2 separate regions of the Homo sapiens genome follow, and region 2 is linked to region 1. Evidence: promoter capture Hi-C in human tissues and cell types (Jung and others, 2019). All regions are on one chromosome and are shown on one strand. The core of a region is centred on a gene start or on the middle of the fragment in contact, and the rest is flanking DNA. Distances in the headings are between cores, read along the strand shown.

What was found. Contacts are between HindIII fragments. The study calls those that stand out against the background at their distance.
Region 2: a contact is called between a fragment that was not itself captured here and the fragment with the promoter of CLEC2A in region 1, in 1 of the 25 tissues and cell types used here (mesenchymal stem cells).

What each region holds. Positions count from the first base shown.
Region 1 is chr12:9,930,269-9,934,454 of GRCh38, reverse strand. It overlaps CLEC2A (C-type lectin domain family 2 member A), which reads left to right and starts at 2,085. Exons shown (of 5, transcript NM_001130711.2): 1 at 2,085-2,180. The coding sequence starts at 2,126. The HindIII fragment of the contact is 8,050 bases long and covers 916-4,186 here.
Region 2 is chr12:9,788,961-9,793,296 of GRCh38, reverse strand. No RefSeq gene overlaps it. Among named protein-coding and RNA genes, the nearest start is that of CD69, 30 kb to the right of the region's middle. The HindIII fragment of the contact is 3,981 bases long and covers 1-3,248 here.

The DNA.
Region 1 (4,186 bases), core at 836-3,335:
ACTTGAACCCAGGAGGTGGAAGTTGCGTGAGCCGAGATCACACCATTGCATTCCAGCCTGGGCCACAGGAGAGAAACTCCATCTCAAAAAAAAAAAAAAAATGACACTGTGCTTCTGGAAATAACCTAATTATTACCAGAGGAAGGAATTCATGTCTATGCCATACAAGAGCTTTCACCCTTTAGAAGTGTTTTACGGAAGGTCACACACACACACACACACACACACACTGATCAAATTGCGGAATTCTCTGAAGCATACAGAGAATGGCATTTATTCTGGCAAGAACTGTGCAAATTGTTACAAGAAACATAAGGGATGGCAAGTATGAACAATTATATTTCAACAGATGCAGGAAGCAGTTGAAATATGGCTTCTCAACATCTGGGGCTTGCATACTTGTCATCTGGAAACCAGATTGGGTCAGTTACATGTGGAAAGGAATAAGTTATTGCCAGGCCAAATTTCCATATTAAAAGAAGTCTCCATTACCAGATTCTTTTTTTACAGACACCAAATAGACCAGGGAGTTACTAAAAATGGAAGGAGGTCGTGAGAAAGCAAGTCATACTATGAGTAGGACCTCACCTTATGAATTGCCTCTTTAGCAAAATCAACTGCAGAAAGGAAAGACATTGTCTGTTAAATGAAAGGTAATAAATGGAATTCGCAGGTGGACAAAAATACCTCCTGAAATCCCGTAACCCAGCGGGGTACAGATGAGACACGCCCTCTGCAGATACAGTGTGCAACTACCAGTGTGACTCTGAGTGCCCGTTTTCTGTCTCTGCACCGAAGCACCAAAAGCAAAGATTCCAGGCTGAAGCAAATTTTTTTTTTTTTTTTTTGAGACGGAGTCTTGCTCAGTTGCCCAGGCTGGAGTGCAGTGGCACGATCTCGGCTCACTGCAAGCTCCGCCTCCCGGGTTCACACCATTCTCCTGCCTCAGCCTCTCGAGTAGCTGGGACTACAGGTACCCGCCACCAGGCCCGGCTAATTTTTTGTATTTTTAGTAGAGACGGGGTTTCATTGTGTTAGCCAGGATAGTCTCGATCTCCTGACCTCATGATCCACCCGCCTCGGCCTCCCCAAGTGCTGGGATTACAGGTGACAGACACCGCGCCCAGCCAGTTTTACAGCTTTTTATAAAGATAAACATACTTATATGATGCAGCAATTCAATTTCTGGGAATTTATCCAAGAGAAAACTTGCTCACACAAAAATGCCTGTGTACAGCAGTTTCATACATAACAGTCCCACCCTAGAAACAAAAGTCCATCAACTAGTGATCAAAGAGATAATTTCTGGTATAACATGCAATAGGAATACTACTAAGAAATAAAAGGGAATGAACTACTTACCTGCACAACAACTTGAGTGAATCTCAAAAGTATTATAAATGAAATAAGCAAGAGACAAGACACTACATATTATATGATACCATTTATATAAAATTCTATGAAAGGGGCTGGCCGTGGTGGCTCATGCCTGTAATCCCAGTACTTTGGGTGACTGAAGCCAGAAGATCACTTAAGCCCAGGAGTTCAAGACCAGTCTGGGCAATATAATGAGACCTAGTCTCTACAAAAAATAAAATTAGCAGGGCATGATGGTGCGCGACTGTAGTCCCAGCTACTTGGGTGGGTAGGGCAGGAGGATTGCTTGAGCCAAGGAGGTCAAAGTTGCAATGGGCCAAGTTTTCCCCACTGCACTCCAGCCTGGGCAACACAGTGAGACCCTGCCTCAAAAAAAAAAAATTCCATGAAAGGAAAAACTATGTTGATATAAAGCAAAGTAATGCTTGCCAGGGTCCAGGGTCAGAAAAGATAGTGATTACACAAGGAAAAAAAGAAAGATGATGGAAATGTTCCATAGCACGGTTGTTGTGGTGTTTACATGATTGACTTTACGATCCTTTTGTTATGGATGAGTTAATTTTTAAATTCCTTCCTTAAACTAACAAGTCTGCCTACTTTTATCTTTGATCTAAAATTAGTACTGATGTTTTCCATTTGGATTGGTTAAGTCTCTTTTGACTGAAGCTTGCTCAGTGCCTAAATAAGTGATGTACATGAAAAGCTTTCTAGTCCTCTCCTACTGATCTCCATCGGTTAGCGCCTTGCCATGATTAATCCAGAGCTGCGGGATGGCAGAGCTGATGGCTTCATACATCGGATAGGTAAGTTTTATAGAGTGAATGAGAAGGAAGTAAAGGAAAGATAAAACAAAATACAGGACAGCTTAAAAATATGGACTCTTTACTTACTGTGAAAGTCTACTAAAGTAAGTGAGGGATGGGGAAGCACTTCCGGAGAATTGTGGAAGCCTGTTAGAGCATGTAGAGTTTTATGTCTGCAAGAGAGGGTATAAGCTTGTGTGTAAGAAGGTTTTGGGGCAGAATTTTATGGTACGTGTATTATATCTCAATAAGAATATTTTTAAAATGTACTTTCACAGGGAAAAAATTGCTTAACACTTTTATACAGAATAAAAAGCAAATGCTTCACTCTGGAAGGAGGCTTGATGATTGTGACTTCATAAGACTGAAAAGAACTTTTCAAAAATTTTAAGATTCAGCTAAGGCCAACAATGAAGTTTGTTTTCAGTGGATTGAAACATAAACAAACCAATAAATAAAAACAAGGTACACATACAAACACCCTCCATTCACAATAGTTCTGAGGGTTTATGTTAAAGAAAACGAATGAATTGTATGCCAAATGACTGGAATAGGAAGCCTGCCAAAACTTTAAGATAAAGACAGTGAAGAGATAAAAAGTAAAATCTTGAAATGAGTTAAGGACTCCAGCTGAAACCACTATCAGAGTTTACTGATATGAATTCCCAGGGCAATTGGGATAATTCTTTTAATAATAAGTAAGCCTGATACTCTTAAAGGTTGAAGAGACCTCAGTAGCTACCTAGTAAAACTTTTCATCTACCATACGATTTCTAGCTACAGCATTTCTAGCAGCCTATACTAGAATGTTTTCAGTGATAATATCTCTCTGTCTTAGAAGACTTTCCATTTTAATTTAAGGATGTTCTATTTAGAAGTTTCTTTAGGGTAAGGTTAAATTTACTTCGTTGTATATTCTAACTATTGGTCATAGTTACGAACTCTTGATCTATGAAAACTTCATAAGAAAATTTTTAAAAATTAGTCTACATTTTACACAATTGGACATTAGTATTACAAAAAGAAATAAGATTCCATCCCTTTAGCCAAATAAATTAGTCAGGCTTGTCTGGGTAACAGATTTAAGAGTTTAGAGAGTAAAAAGTGGAAGAAAATTTATCTCATTGCATAACGAGAAGACAAAATATGAAGTACTGTGAAGCATGTACTGGAAGATTATGAGAAAGCCGGGCTGCAGGAATCATTAGAACATCTAGTCTGAGAATTTAATTAAAGCATAATAAAAATGCTCCAAAAGAAAAGATATTAATGAAATGAAGAAGCACCAAGAACACAATAAAAACCAAGTGAAAATAATAATTATAGAAATATAGTGTTTGAAATAAAGAACACTTTGAGGAGTTAATTAATAGAATGGACGCTGATTAAGAATGAATAAGACCTAGGAGATGCTATTAAAAACATGACAGAAAAGAAAACAGTTAGAAAATATAAAATAAAAGCTGAGAGATATGAAAAATAGAAGTAGAAATGCCACCTTCTAGATAACAAGAATCTGAAACAGAGAGAGAGAAAAAAAGAATAGCGGATAGGAAATATTTGAAGAAATAATATTCCAACTTCTAAAACTAATAAAAGCCAAATACCTCAAACTGAAACTTCAAAAGTGTACAAACAAAATAGATAAGAAAAAAACATGCATCTGGCACAATAGAGTGAAAGAAAAATATACAAAATTAAAAAATGAGATAATAGGAGACGTTAGTGAAAAAGAGAAGAAATGAGAGGGATAACAAATCAAATGGTGGCTATTAGAAAAGACGAGAGAACTAGATGTCTAAAAGTTTGCAGAAGACGATACAATAAAGAAAATATCAAAAAAGTACAAATAATCACAAAAACCACAAATATTAAAATTTAATAAAACATTATGGAAATAATTCATCAATTATTATGGGGCAAACTCTGTTCCCTTAAAATTTTATATATTGAGGCTCTAACCCCCTCTACCTCAGAATGTGATCTGGTTTGGAGATAGTGTCTTT
Region 2 (4,336 bases), core at 9-2,508, 140 kb after region 1:
ATACCATCCTCCTGGTTGAAATGATTACTTTAAAAATGGCAGATGAAGCTTCCAATGCAATAAAATATTGATCTACATACTCTGATGACAGTAAATAGAACTATGTTTGCTTTTTATCTGTATGACTCATGTTTATGGTTTCCTACAAAATGTTCATTTCTGTGTGTTTATCAGAGAGTCAAAACATTCCTTATGATTATCCCCCAAAAAATGCCAGATGCAAGGAGTTGGAGGAGCAGATCTTGTTGAGATACAGGCTGCAGAGAAATTCCGTTTGCTCATTCTTTTGTAGTATTGATTGGTATGGCTCTTAGGGAGTAAAATGATATGTATCATCCAAAAAATAAATACATCAAGAATGATATCCCAATTTTTTGCTAGGATTTGTCCCCAAATTTCTTCAGGCTGTGTTACAGGTCAGGTTCCTCAAAAACAGACTCTCAGATGAAGGATTACATAAAGGATGTTAAGTACCTGTGGATGAGAAAGAAAGGATTGGGCAAAGGCAGATATTGAATTGTGATGCAGTAACACAAAGGCTTCAGCTAACAGTATAGGGAGCTCTGGAGGTGAGTGCCCTTTCAAGTTTATCTTGATATAAGGCAACAAGTCCAAGCTTTTATACTCCCACACGAACCAGCCGTTTGATACATCTGGCACTGGGAGAAAGTGTGACTTTGAGAAGGCACTTCTGTTTAGCTGAGAGCCATACAAGGAAGATTCAGTTGAAAGCTTCTGACTCCCAGGTGCTGAGACAATGAGGCTTCAGTCCAAAGTGGAGACACACCATTGCACCCATTGTAAATGGAAAACCAGTTTTTAAATCAAAAGATAAGGAAGACATATATATATATATACACACACACACACACATATATATACATATATACACACATATATGCAGATAGATAGATAGATAGATGGATAGATAGATAGATAGATAGATAGATAGATAGATAGATAGATAAATTTTCCTGATCAGACTCCTTTGCTTAGGGCTAGCAGCATATATCCAAAAGTCCATTAAAATATCCAACTCAATCTCCCACATATTCCAGAAACAAAAGTGATCATTTTGATTCTTTTCTAAATCTAATTTTACCCCCTAATTTCTGACTCATTTGAAAGAATACTGCCCACAGTTTTAGGAATCAAAGCATGAAGGCCATCCTTGACTCTCTGTCTGCATTTTTTTCTGATTAAATGACCCTACCTAATAAATCATAGACTGTAATGACTAGTAATGTCTTTAATTCAACAACTTTCCATCATCTCTACTTCCACTGCATTGGTCTTAAAGGCAGTCATCTCTCTATGGTATCCCTTTATTCCAGTTCATCTTGCACCTGTTAGACTGAGTAACTTCCAAAAATTGCACCTGTTAACTTCCAAAAATTAATATCTAATTGCAATTTGTCCCAAATTTATAAGAATTTATTACTTTCTTTCTGCACTTAGAATAATTCCAGACTATTTAACAGCATTGATTTCACCCTGTAATCTGGCTTTGTCTCTTGTTCCATTCTTCAGTCTCACTGTAGTGGACCATTCTTTCTCCCATCTCTAAGACTTGTACATTTTACCCTTGTCTACAAAGTTGTTGTTGTTGTTGTTTTTCCTCTGCCTTATTCACCTGGAAAACTGTCTCATCTTTCACTTCTCAGATTAAATATTTACATAATTTTATAGAATGCCACCTTGAGAATAAATTCTCCAAGATGTGTTCTACATGCCCTCATAATTACCTGCTTAATTGTCTTGCCAGACATGAGCAGAAACAGTGGAATAAAGACCTACAAAAAGCTATTCCTTCATAAAATCAACAAGAACATTGACAAAAACTGTCAAAACAAACTTCCTCAGAATACTGTGAATTAACCAAAGACTTGCAAAAATCTGGCAAGCATTTACTCAAGAAAATAGGTGAATTTAATTGAAAACAGTGACCTTTGTGGAGATTTAACTTGCTCTATTCCTATTCCGTATTCCTCAGCTTCACAGTAGCCTTGAAAAACTATAGTAGGTCTTACAACTATAGTAGCAGTAGTGAACTGTAGCCCAACAGGTCTCAGAGGGGCCATAAAGGGTTTAGAAGTCCCAAAAATTATTCTTAGAGTACTGTCATTATTCAAACTATCAAACATGATCTTGGAAATTCCCACCTACGACTTTAGTTGATCTCAAACAGAGCTCGCTCAGTGCAAATGACTTTTTCCCTAGGGGTATTTGACAAAAACAATCAGCACCTATTGCTGTACATTGCAGCTGCTTAATATGGAATAACAGCTGGGGCAAAGGAAAAGCTGACCAAAAAACTTAAGAGGGAAACTTAAGGGATGGGCTGCCTATAGTAGTTCATTGAAATGATACAAAATATTGATACAGCTTCAATGAATGGAGGAACACCAGAGTCCTTTGTCTCACGCCAATTTAGATAAGACAACATGGACACACATGGAGTGGTTTTAAGGAACAGAGAGTTTAATAGGCAAGAAAGAAAGAAGAAGCTCCCAGCTACAGAGACGGGGGGTCGGTGAGGGGTGGGGGTGGCTCCAAGCAGAGAGAGGAAACCCCAAGTATGGTGGAAACAATCTGTTATATTAGAAGGCTGGAGGAGGTGGTGTCTGATTTTTATAGGCCCAGGGGATTGGTTTGACTTAGTATGTCATTCACATAGCCTGCAAAAAAACTGGCTCTCCCACCCTAGTCTTTTAATATGCAAATGCAGGCCGCCATGATTTTCTGCACAGTGGAGACCTCTGGGGGTGCCATGATGCTTGGCACATGTGGTGACAAGGAGAAGAAGGTGGGACTTGCCATATTGGATGGACCCAGCTTCTAATAGCCAGCATTTGCATATCAAAGCTTGCTGGCTTGGCCCTTCAAGCCATTTTTTTGCTAAAAAAGAAATGTTTCTGGAGCTGCTTTTATTTAAAGAAAAAAACCTTACCAAGGACCACTTATCCTATCTGCCTGAAATAATTTCTTAATAATTTCTATAATAATATGATCATCAATATCATGAAAATGACCACACTGCCCAAAGCAATCTACTGATTCAATGCAATTCCCATGAAAATATCAACATCATTTTTCACAGAACTACAGAAAACAATTCTAAAATTCATATGGAACCAAAAAAAGAGCCTGAATAGCCAAAGCAATCCTAAGTAAAAAGAACAAATCTGGAGGCATCACATTACCTGACTTCAAATTATACTACAAGGCTATCATAAACAAAACAGCATGGTACTGGTATAAAATTAAATACGTAAGCCAATGGAACAGGATAGATAGATAACCCAGAAATTAAGCCAAATACTTATAACCAACTGATCTTTGACAAAATGTACGTAGATTGGGGAAATAATTCAATAAATGGTGCTGGAAAAACTGGACAGCCACATGTAGAAGAAAGAAACTGTATCCCTATGCCTCACTATATACAAAAATCAACTCAAGATGGATTAAAGACTTAAATCTGAGGCTTGATACCATAAAAATTCTAGAAGAAAACCTAAAGAAAAACTCTTCTGAACATTGGGTTAGGCAAAGAGCTTATGATTAATACTCCAAAAGAAAAGGTAACAAAACAAAAATAAATAAATGGGACCTAATTAAATGAAAAAGCTTCTGCACACCAAAAGACATAATCAGAGTAAACAGATAACCCACAGAATTGGAGAAAATATTTGCAAACTAAGCATCTAACAAAAGACTAATATCCAGAGTTTATAAAGAACTCAAACAAATCAGCAAGAAAACAAATAATTCCATCAAAAAGTGAGCAAATTGTATAAATAGACACTTCTCAAAAGAAGATATACAAATGGCCAACAAACATGAAAAATGCTCAATATCACTAATAATCAGGGAAATGCAAATTACAATCACAATGAGATACAATCTAACTCCTGCAAGAATGGCTGTAATTACAAAACTGGAAAACTCTGGATGTTGACATAGATATGCTACAAAGGAAACACTTATACACTCCTTGTGAAAATGTAAATTAATAAAAACCCTATGGAGAATAGTACAGAGATTTCTCGAAGAACTAAAGTAGACCTGCCATTTGATCTAGCAATCCTATTACCAGAATTAACAATCCAAGTTAAATATAAATTAAAAGAATTTGTTATTAGCAGATTTGTCTTACAATAAATGCTACAGAGAGTCCGTCAGACTGAAATAAAAGGACAACTAGGAAGTAACTTGAATCCACATGAAAACATAGAGATCATTGGTAAAGGTAACTATATGAGTAAATATAAAAGACAATATTAATGTATTTTTGTTTAATAATTATATTTTTTTGCTAACTTATTAAAATAAA